Regions from separate parts of the Homo sapiens genome. Here regions 1, 3 and 4 are each linked to region 2. The links are contacts of gene promoters, found by promoter capture Hi-C in blood cells and fetal thymus (Javierre and others, 2016). All regions are on one chromosome and are shown on one strand. Each heading gives the region's core, a stretch centred on a gene start or on the middle of the fragment in contact. The rest is flanking DNA. Distances are from core to core; before and after follow the strand shown. Region 1 has its middle 26 kb from the start of ANP32E. Region 2 holds the start of MTMR11 (myotubularin related protein 11). Region 3 overlaps RPRD2 (regulation of nuclear pre-mRNA domain containing 2). Region 4 overlaps MRPS21 (mitochondrial ribosomal protein S21).

The links. Contacts are between HindIII fragments. The CHiCAGO score rates a contact against its expected background, and 5 or more counts as called.
Region 1: a fragment that was not itself captured here is called in contact with the fragment with the promoter of MTMR11 in region 2 in 13 of 17 cell types (megakaryocytes, neutrophils, erythroblasts and 10 more); the score reaches 10.2 in megakaryocytes.
Region 3: a fragment that was not itself captured here is called in contact with the fragment with the promoter of MTMR11 in region 2 in 1 of 17 cell types (neutrophils); the score reaches 5.2 in neutrophils.
Region 4: a fragment that was not itself captured here is called in contact with the fragment with the promoter of MTMR11 in region 2 in 1 of 17 cell types (erythroblasts); the score reaches 6.1 in erythroblasts.

Annotation. Positions count from the first base shown.
Region 1 is chr1:150,209,196-150,211,895 of GRCh38, reverse strand. It overlaps the pseudogene RN7SL480P. Among named protein-coding and RNA genes, the nearest start is that of ANP32E, 26 kb to the left of the region's middle. The HindIII fragment of the contact is 5,688 bases long and covers 1-2,700 here.
Region 2 is chr1:149,935,461-149,938,160 of GRCh38, reverse strand. MTMR11 (myotubularin related protein 11) reads left to right here and starts at 1,282. Exons shown (of 17, transcript NM_001145862.2): 1 at 1,282-1,579; 2 at 1,932-2,007; 3 at 2,456-2,577. The coding sequence starts at 1,514. OTUD7B (OTU deubiquitinase 7B) reads left to right here. Exons shown (of 12, transcript NM_020205.4): 12 at 1-349. RefSeq lists an enhancer at 1,492-2,016. The HindIII fragment of the contact is 11,640 bases long and covers 1-2,323 here.
Region 3 is chr1:150,378,643-150,381,342 of GRCh38, reverse strand. All of the region lies in intron 1 of RPRD2 (regulation of nuclear pre-mRNA domain containing 2), which reads right to left. Among named protein-coding and RNA genes, the nearest start is that of RPRD2, 16 kb to the right of the region's middle. The HindIII fragment of the contact is 3,943 bases long and covers 1-2,700 here.
Region 4 is chr1:150,301,121-150,303,820 of GRCh38, reverse strand. All of the region lies in intron 2 of MRPS21 (mitochondrial ribosomal protein S21), which reads right to left. Among named protein-coding and RNA genes, the nearest start is that of MRPS21, 8.6 kb to the right of the region's middle. The HindIII fragment of the contact is 541 bases long and covers 1,062-1,602 here.

The DNA of each region.
Region 1 (2,700 bases), core at 17-2,516, 270 kb before region 2:
GCAGTGGCTATTCACAAGCACGATCCTGCTACTGATCCGCACGGGAGTTTTGACCTGCTCTATTTCTGACCTTGGCCAGTTTACCCCTCCCCTTAGGCAACCTCGTGGTCCCCTGTTCCTGGGAGGTCACCATATTGGTGCCGAACTTAGTGCGGACACGCGATCGGTATAGCACACTACAGCCCAGAACTCCTGGGCTCAAGCCGTCTCCTGCCTCAGCCTCCCAAGTAGCTGGGACTACAGGCACGGGACACCGCGCCTGGCAAAGTTAACAAATATTTAACTGCAGTAAAACTAATGTCAGTAGTTTCTCAGGCATTTTCATTGGCTTTTACAAAGTCACAAAATTGGGTAAAATGAGGGCCATTTACTTTATTTAAAAAAAAGAGGCCGAGCGCTGTGGCTCACGCCTGTAATCCCAACACTTTGGGACGCCGAGGCAGGTGGATCACAAGGTCAGGAGTTGGAGAGCAGCCTGGCCAATATGGTGAAACCTCGTCTCTACTAAAAAATACAAAAATTAGCCGGGCATGGTGGCACGTGCCTGTAATCCCAGCTACTCAGGAGGCTGAGGCAGGAGAATCGCTTGAACCTGGGAGGTGGAGCTTGCAGTGAGCCAAGATCGCGCCACTGCACTCTGGCCTGGGCAACAGAGTGAGACTCTGTCTCAAAAAAAGAAAAAAAAAAAAAAAAGAGATGAGAATATTCTTGGATTTTAAGAAGCCAAGATTTTCTAGTGGGTAATAGCATTTCTCAGAAAAGACTTTTTCTTTTAACAGACTAAATATTTAGGAAAACTTTTTTTCTTATATTGAGGGATTGTATTTTCAGCATTGTTTCGATGTTGCCGCAATATTTTAAAAAATACTTATTAGCAGGTGGAGATGATGTGAATTTGTTGTTTACAACCCGTAGGATATTGAAGAGCTACCTGCTGAGAGAGGAGCTGCTACCATCTGGTCTCTGCTATGAGGCCAAAGCACTACATTGGTCCCATGATAAACCTACTTTTCTTTTTGTGTCATTTATTTTCCTTTCCACTGCTATTCTATATCAGCCTTGAGGTTGCTATTGGAGTTGAGGGACAAATAAGAGGTCATATAATGTAGGCCATCGCATAATGATGAAACATCAATTCTGTGGTCTGTCTCTAAGGCTCTGTCCTTGATAATAAAATACAGTGTGCTGTAATGGTTATCAAGTTTCCACTCCATATTATTAGGTTATTAGCTATTAATTAGATATCACTTGCCATTTTTACTTTACATGACTGTAAATAACTGCTGTCTTTCAGATCTTCATGTACTCAATCTTTACAAGCGGTTTGCAATTAACATATTAAGAAAAAAACCATGGAGAATTATGTGCAAATCCTTTTCAAGGCAAGCAGTCTTACAGCTATGATCAAAGGCATAAAATGTAGAATATTTAACAAACTTTTAAAATCCTTTGTTTAAGGAACATAAGTGATAGGAAAACAAATATGAATGATACCAACTCTATCCCTTGAAAAACAGCCTAAACCCAAGATTATAAACCAAGAGCGAAATTGCAGGCAGAGAAATGGCTGAGCTGACAGCTTGTGCCCAGAAAGCTCAGAAGATGCCAAAACTTTGATTTGCTCACTTCAGTGAAGGCGTGATCCTTCATTTTGCAGGGCTATAGAAGGAGATGTATTTGAGTTTGTAAATACAAAATCGATCAATATGTGAGGGACAGACTTGTGCCGTGAAAATTCACCAAAGTCAGATTTCTAAATCAAGTTGTCAATTTATTAATTTACAGGGAGAATGTATATTTACATTGTTTATGGTATTATTGTTCAGTGTTCTAAATTGGCGCTCTTTAATAGACATATAATTCTGTCAAAAATGCAAGTTGGTGGAGTGCGGTGGCTCTCACCTATAATCCCAGCACTTTGGGAGGCCAAGGCGGGTGGATCACCTGAGGTCAGGAGTTGGAGACCAGCCTGGCCAACATGGTGAAACCCTGTCTCTACTAAAAACACAAAAATTAGCCAGGCATGGTGGTGGGTGTCTGTAATCCCAGTTACTCGGGAGGCTGAGGTAGGAGAATTGTTTGTGCCTGGGAGGCAGAGGCTGCAGTAAGCCAAGATCGAGCCACTCTACTCCAGCCTGGGTGACAGAATGAGACTCTGTCTCAAGAAATAAATAAATAAATAAAATAAAAATGCAAGTCACAGATGTATTTAGAATTTTCTAGTAGACATATTTAAAAAACTAAAAAGAAACAGGTAAAATTAATTTTAATGTATTTTAATTAACCCAACATATTCAAAATATTATACTTTCTACATGTAATCAATGTAAAAAATCATTAGTAAGATGTTTTGTATTTTTTTCATGCAAAGTCTTCCAAATCTGGGATGGATTTTATGCTTACAGCAAATCTCAATTCAGATAGCCACTTTTCTTTCTTTCTTTTTTTTTTTAACAGAGTTTTATTTTTATTTAGTTACTTTCTTCTTCTTTTTTTTCTTTTTATAAAGATAGGATCTCACCATGTTGCCCAGGCTGGTCTCAAACTCCTGGGCTCAAGTGATCCTCCCTCCTTGGCCTCCCAAAGTGCCTGGATTAGCCACATTTCAAGTGCAGTAGTCATGTTGCTAGGTGAAGGTCTCGTGTATCCCTTCTAGGAAAGGTAACTGAGAGGCCAAGTGCACAATCAGAATCCTCTCAG
Region 2 (2,700 bases), core at 33-2,532:
CAGACCTTGGGAAATATTTTCTTCCCCCAAGAGGTTGAGGCCCATGGAATGCATTAGGGGCAGGTGGGGTGGTGGTGCTCTGTAGCCTTTAGGACTTCTAGAATCAGGCTTCTGGGCCACCTTCTTAGCAGGTGTATACCTCTTTGTTCCAGACTGACTTTCTGTCTCACAATATCTTCACTATTTCCACAGTTGCAGCCAAGACAGGAAACTGAAAGCTGAGGCCAGAAGGGTGGTGTACTGGGGGGAGGGGAAAATTGAGTGTCACTTTGGAAAACTGGGGCCCCCATCTAAGGATTGCTGCCTCTGTAGATTCAAAAGCAATAAAACAGCAGCTCATTAACTCTTATTTTGTATTTTATTTTCTGTCTTTTTCATGTCTAAATAAAGATTTTTGCTTTGCTGTCCCCAAGTCCCCCTCCTTTAAAGGAGCTGCAGCTCCTTCTCTCCTTGTTCCCAGCTTTCCTTACCCATCTTTGCTTCTAGGGTTGCAGATGGGAGGGACGGGGGATGGACTGCTGAGCTGAAGAGAGGTTTCCAGCCCTCACCTGTGAAAGTCCTGAACATGAATCATTCATTTGGAGATCTGGTGTCTGGGTTGGAGGGGTGGAGTCACATACGGGAATGGGCACTTATTGCCTATTGGTTGTGTATCTACGTGATGGGCAAGATTAACTGGTAAGATCTTTTTGTCCCACCCACATCCCCAAGACTTGCACACAAACTGTACTTGTGTCTGCATCTTGGACACATTTCCATCTCTTTTTATACTTCTCCACTGCAGTCTTCACATGATGTCTGTGTCATGCCCTCTAGAGAAAGATATGCAAAACCACTTTAACCAGTTTCCCTGCTTCCTCACCTAATTCTTGGGCCTCTGCTGACAAAAATCCCCCCAGGTCTAATTTTCATTTTCTTCTGGAAGAGGCGGCAAGGAGGCTTGAACCACTTTCACATTCCTACCCCTCTCCCCGCCCCAAACCCCTTTGAGAAGACAAAAGAACGGAGCTTTTAAGGGAAGTCATCACTGAGACACTCCAGACAGGTAGCCCAGATGATTCCAGCTTCATAATCAATAGAACTGCTCCCCTCAAACGGTCTCCAGTACTCATGAACAGGAAGAGAACAGGGTCTGGGATTGGGGTAAAGAAGGGAGTCGTTTTTCTCTCAGTCCCCATTTCTTCCCCACCCGTCCGTCTCAGACTCCACCGTTTCCTCTCCACTTTTCCAGAATTGTGTGTATTCTCCTTTAAGGGGTTGGGCATCTCTCCCGCCCTCTCCAGAGTCGACTGAAGTTTCCGAGGAGACTTCTCAGGCTGGGCTGGACACACCTTTCCAAGGACCCCCAAACTCTGCTCCGTGCACGTCAAATGCTCCTTTCCCTTGTGTCCAACCCCCTACCCCTCTCCCTAACACCCCTCTTCTCAACAAGACTCAGCCTCTCCCCGAGGTGGGTGAGCATCCTTGAGGTTTCCCACCCTTAACTGCTGTGTCCCCGGATGGAGCCAGAGAAATGTGGTGGGGGGGCCGGGGCCAGAGTTTCAACATTGCCCCCCAGAAGGAGGAGCCAGAGATGGGGGTAAGGAGAAGGAATTTGGGGGGTGTCGGCAAGAGGGTGAGAACGGGGATGAGGTGGAGATAAAAGGGGGAAGCAAAGGCTCTAGAGGAGGAGGAGGAGGGTGTGTCTGTCTATCAGCTTCTGCTGATGGAGCCTGGTCCGTCTTTCTCAGTCTCAAGTTCGTTGTCTCATTATCCATTAACCAGCCCCTCCCTTTACTGTTTACCAGCCCTGTTAGGTCTGGAGCTCCCCACAGACACTGATCTCAGTTTCCCCCGAGAGTGTGAGTGTAGGCCTCTACAGGCAGCTGCCTCTGGGGAGTTGGGGAGCCTAGGGGTTAACTCTAGACCCCCCTCAACCCTCTGGACCAAAGTCTGTCCAGGAAAATAGGATGCCGGAGCCCAGGAGTCGTCAGCCTAGCAGTTGCCTGGCCTCCAGATGCCTCCCAGGTAATAATGCCCTATCACTCTCCAAAGACTTCCAAATTTCATCCTACGCCAATCTTGTTTCATGCCCTCACCAAAGATACCCCTGTGTTCCTCTCGTGGCTCGAAGTACGTCTGCCTGAGGCTCGCTGTCCTCCCTGACAGCCTCTAGAGCTGGCTGAGAGCTGGACCTTGACATTCCTTCTGTTTCCTTGACCCTGTTACCCCTTTTCAAATTTACTTATTCGATACATAGTTAGTGCCTGCTATGTGCCAGGCCTTGTTCTAGGCTCTGTTCTAGTTACAGAAATTAAAAAACATTTATCTTTCCTCATAAGCTTACATTGTAGTGGGCTTTGGGGAGGATTTTAATCTTCCCTATTTAGATCTCCCTTTCTTGGAGGGGTGGGTGTATCCAAGTGTGGGCAACACTGGGAACAGTCATAACAGGGCTTCCCTTCTTCCCCTTTAGGGGAGCAGATCCTAGCATGGGCCCCAGGGGTGAGGAAGGGCCTGGAACCAGAATTGTCTGGAACCCTGATCTGTACCAACTTTAGGGTCACCTTCCAGCCCTGTGGATGGCAGTGGAATCAGGTGAGATGGTTGGGGCCACAGAAATGACAGCTAGTGGGAAATGGGTAGGGGAGTCTAGCAGGATTTAGACAAACATTATGGGTTAAGGGCTGTCTTTTGAATGTATCATTGATAATCAGTGGG
Region 3 (2,700 bases), core at 128-2,627, 440 kb before region 2:
TCAAGCAATCCTCCCACCTCAGGCTCCTGAGTAGCTAGGACTGCAGGTACGCGCCACCATGTCTACCTATTTTTTTTTTTTTGTAGAGATGGGGGTCTCACTATGTTGCCCAGGCTGGTCTCCAACTCCTGGACTCAAGCAATCTTTCCACCTTGGCCTACCATAGCGCTGGGATTACAGGCATAAGCCAGCACACCCTGACAATTACAGCACTTTCTATGTTCCATGCCTTCTTCTAGGTGCTGAGGATGCAGTGGTGAACAAAACAAATAATCTGTTGTTAGCAGTTTACATTCTTTTTGGGGGTGAGGGGGGCCATGTGTCTCAATAAATAAGCAAATAAATAAACAAGGCAGTATCTTATAATGAGAAAAGCCATAAAGAAAATAAAGGCCAGGCGTGCTTCACGCCTGTAATCCCAGCACTTTGGGAGGCCAAGCCGGGCAGATCACAAGGTCAAGAGATAGAGACCATCCTGGCCAACATGGTGAAACCCCGTCTCTACTAAAAATACAAAAAAGTTAGCTGGACGTGGTAGCGAGCACCTGTAATCCCAGCTACTCGGGAGGCTGAGGCAGGAGAATCGCTTGAACCCAGGAGGCAGAGGTTGCAGTGAGCCGACAGCACGCCATTGCACTCCAGCCTGGCGACAGAGAGAGACTCCGTCCCAAAAAAATAAAAATAAAATAAAATAGGAGCCGGGTGTGGTGGCTCACGCCTTAATCCCAGCACTTTGGGAGGCTGAGGCAGGTGGATCACCTGAGGTCAGAAGTTCAAGGCCAGCCTGGCTAATAGCAAAACCTCATCTCTACTAGAAAAATACAAAAATTAGCTGGGCATGGTGGTGTATGCCTATAATCCCAGCTACTTCAGAGGCTGAGACAGGAGAACTGCTTGCCATGAGACAGGAGAATCGCTTGAACCCAGGAGGAAAAAAAACAAAAAAAAATAGGGTAATATGATAAGAGAATGATGGGCGAGGGAAAGAGGTGGGCTCTCAGACAACCACCATAAGGTCAACCTCCAAGGAGATGACACCTGAGCTGAGATCTGAAAGACAAGGACATCAAAGCAAATTTTTCAAATAGCTAAATTTATGTAGTTTGAAGGTTTATCCTTTATTCTGAGAAAATGTCCTTCTAACACTTTTGGAATTAAAGTATAACCTTTTTAATAAAGTGATAGTTTATAAAATGGTGGGTAGTGATGCTATAAATGTAGTATATTTTTATGTCCATTTTTGGCAAAATAAAAAGCTAACAAACTTATGATCTCACAAATTAAAAATAAAAATTAACTGGTTGATAAAATAAAGCCTAGAGACGATCGGGCAATATGCGATGTTAAGATGAGAGACAATGGATATCTACATTGCAGAAAATTGACAAAGGTCATTCTATATTTTGGTTTCAGAAACCCTTTATATTGGTAAAAATTACTGAGGACCTCAAAGAGTTATGTTTTTGTGGGTTATAGCTATGGCTATTTACTATATGAAATTAAACCTGGCCGGGTGCGTTGGCTCACGCCTGTAATCCCAGTACTTAGGGAGGCCAAGGCGGGCAGATCACAAGGTCAAGAGATCGAGGCCATCCTGGCCACACATGGTGAAATCCCATCTCTACTAAAAATACAAAAATTTGCCAGGCGTAGTGGCTCACACCTGTAATCCCAGTGCTTAGGGAGGCCGAGGCGGGCAGATCACCTGAGGTTGGGAGTTCGAGACCAGCCTGACCAACATGGAGAAACCCCGTCTCTACTAAAAATACAAAATTAGCCGGGCATGGTGGCACATGCCTGTAATCCCAGCTACTCAGGAGGCTGAGGCAGGTGAATCGCTTGAACCTGGGAGGCGGAGGCTGCAGTGAGCCGAGATGGCGCCATTGCACTCTAGCCTAGGTAACAAAAGCAAAACTCGGTCTCAAAAAAAAATACGTAAATAAAAATAAAATAAACAGAAATTAAACCTAAGAATTTAAAAACATCCATTAACCCATTAAAAACAATAAATCCATTACAATCAATAAATTATTTCTTTTCTTTCTTTTTGTTTTTTTTTTGAGATGGAGTCTCGCTCTGTCGCCCAGGCTGGAGTGCAACGGCGTGATCTGGGCTCACTGCAACCTCCGCCTCCCAGGTTCAAGCAATTCTCCTGCCTCAGCCTCCTGAGTAGCTGGGATTACAGGCGCACGCCACCATGACGGTCTAATTTTTGTTTTTTTTTAGTAGACACAGGGTTTCGCCATGTTGGCCAGGCTGGTCTTGAACTCCTCACCTTGTGATCTGTCTGCTCGGGCCTCCCAAAGTACTGGGATTACAGGCATGAGCCAATTCAGCTGGGCCTTTTTTTTTTTTTTTTTTTTAATGAAGTCTCACTCTGTTGCCCAGGCTGATGTGCAGTGGCACCATCTCGGCTCACTGCAACTTCCACCTCCGGGTCCAAGGGATTATCCTGCCTCAGCCTCCCAAGTGGTTGGGATTACAGGCGCGCACCACCATGCCTGGCTAAGTTTTGTATTTTTAGTAAAGATGGGGTTTCTTCATTTTGGCCAGGCTGGTCTCGAACTCCTGACCTCATGTGATCCACCCGCCTTGGCCTCTCAAGTTGCTGGGATTACAGGCACTCAGTGAGCCACCCTGTCTAGCCAATAAATTATTTCTTAATTAAAAATAACTATATTTTGTAAAACAAAAATTTAG
Region 4 (2,700 bases), core at 83-2,582, 370 kb before region 2:
ATATACAGTTATTGGGGATATAGCTCAGAAAGCCTCAATAGTATTACCTTTACTACGATGGCATATTAGAGTTTAGATAGCATTTTTATATCCATCATCCTAACTACACTCCTATGAAATTGTTTAGGCAAATAATGTCCTCTTTTTATAGATGAGGAAACTGAAGTTCAGAGAGGCTGACCCGCCCAAGATCACAAAATGGAACTATAAACAGAATTCAGGTCTTTAGTAAAGTGCTCTACAACAGTATTCTGCTTCTCAAACAAAAACCACCCATTTCAGAAGACAAACTGTTGCAGTATCCATGGGTAAAAGAGGGAGTGAAGAGCTGGGCTAGACTCTTCAATCAGAGTAAAGAGGAAATGGAAGCCGATAAGGGACACTTGGATAAAAGAATGATCTAAACATGTAAACATTTATTTCTGCTGAGACTTTGTGTTTAATACTGTCTAATGAAGGTTGCTTTTTGGACTAGAAAGTAGTATATTGGAGAAAATATAGAAAAAAGCCCCTGAAAGAAAAAGATTGGATATATAATGTAAAAAGTACAAGGAGACTGGATTTGAGAGAATATAAAAACGACAGAGACCCTGAGTAAATATGACCTAGGAAGACGAACCTATTGGAATGACAAAGACAGTTTAAAAGTAGGATGAAACAACACTGCAAGAGGAGGAAGGGGTTGAGTATGACTCAAGGAACCCTACTGGAGTTCCAAAAGGCTTCTAAAACAAAGGTGATCATCTTACCAAGGAAATGCCTGTACTGTCAGGCAAAAGGGCAAGACAAGGAAAAAGAATAACAAAAGAACATAAGAATGGTGAAGGGAAAAGAAAGAATATAATGATGGGGGTTGGTAAATGGCATTCCCTGGATGTACTACTTACTTCCAAAACACAGACCAAATAAATTCCAAGATGCCAGGTGAGGATTCCCTCCCTTACCCGACACGTTCTAGTCATACTAAAAAAGGCACAGATTATCTTCAAATGCCCCAGAGTCCCTATAGTAGAGGTATCTACTCAACTTTACCTCTAACAGAAAAGGATGCAAGAAAAGCTTTGTAAAACACAAGAATAGAGGGGGTGTTACTAATGATGCTTCCTTCTGCTTCCAAAAGTAGTTCAAGGACTAGTACATCAAGAGCTTTAGAGTAAACAGATCAGCCTGGAGTTCGGGCGCCTGGCAACCTAATACTGAAGGAGAAACCAGCTGCCAGTTTTAGTGAAATTCAAATGATTATGTAAAAGGAGCCAAGCTGCCTGGAGCGGGGGGAGGTGCGGGTGGCAGACTCACATGTCAGTGTAGCCAGTCTACGTCAGGACAGACGTGTATGCAGAAGGACTCAATGGACCCAGAAGGTAGCCCACTAGGAGTAAAAGGAGTCAACAGGGCATGCTTCCAGTGTACTCACCTTTCTTTGCTTGGGGGCCAGCCAATCATGCAGGGCTTCCTAGCAACCCCCACTCTCCACCTTCTCATCCCGGGGCACCAATGAGGGCCCCCAGTTATATAACAGGCATTTTGTGGTGGCCTCACTGGACAGACACGTAGGCTATTTCCTTTGTAAGACTCTCTCTGTACTCCAAACATGGTAAAGCTTTAATCACCTCCCTCTAGACTCATTTGCTCTCCTACCTATTGTTGTAATTAGACCACAGAACAAGCAAATTATTTTTAAACTACCAGCTATGAGAAAGCTGAAAGAGATCAGGAGAGGCCTGGAGTGTGAGAAAGATATACAGAAAAAGTGGCTAGAGAGAGGACATTTGGGAAAAGCAGAGAAAAAGAAGAAACAGAAAAGTGCATCAGTCAGAAAATGTGTTTAACAGGCAGCAGGAAAACAGAAGATTGGATCACTCCAAAATCAGTCTGCTCACGTATGCAAGCTTGAAAGTCCTTACCTAGAAAATTATTCTAAGAGGCCGGGCACGGTGGCTCACCCCTGTAATCCCAGCGCTTTGGGAGGCCGGGCGGGCCAATCATGAGGTCAGGAGTTTGAGACCAGCCTGGCCAACATCGTGAAACCCCGTCTCTACTACAAAAAATTAGCCGGACGTGGTGGCAGGTGCCTGTAATCCCAGCTACTCGGGAGGCTGAGGCAGGAGAATCACTTGAACCCGGGAGACAGAGGTTGCAGTGAGGCGAGACCACGCAGTCTGGGCAACAGAGAGAGACTCCGTATTAAAAAAAAAAGAAAGGAAAAAGAAAATTATTCTAAGACTGAAATATTTGTTCATTTCCCCCCTGCCCCGCGAAGCTATAATACAATTTATGGGACTCTGAGTCTATGGGACTTGAATTTCTTTTCCTTTTTTGAGACGAAGTCTCGCTCTCGTCCCCCAGGCTGGAGTGCAATGAATGGCGCGATCTCGGCTCACTGGAACCTCCGCCTCCTGGGTTCAAGCGATTCTCCTGCCTCAGCCTCCTGAGTAGCTGGGATTACAGGCACCTGCCACCATGTCCGGCTAATTTTTTTTCTTTTGAGACGAAGTCTCGCTCTCGTCCCCCAGGTTGGAGTGCAATGGCGCCATCTTGGCTCACTGCAAGCTCCGCCTCCCGGGTTCACGTCATTCTCCTGCCTCAGCCTCCCGAGTAGCTGGGACTATAGGCGCCCGCCACGGCGCCCAGCTAATTTTTTGTATTTTTAGTAGAGACGGGGTTTCACTGTGTTAGCCAGGATGGTCTCGATCTCCTGAC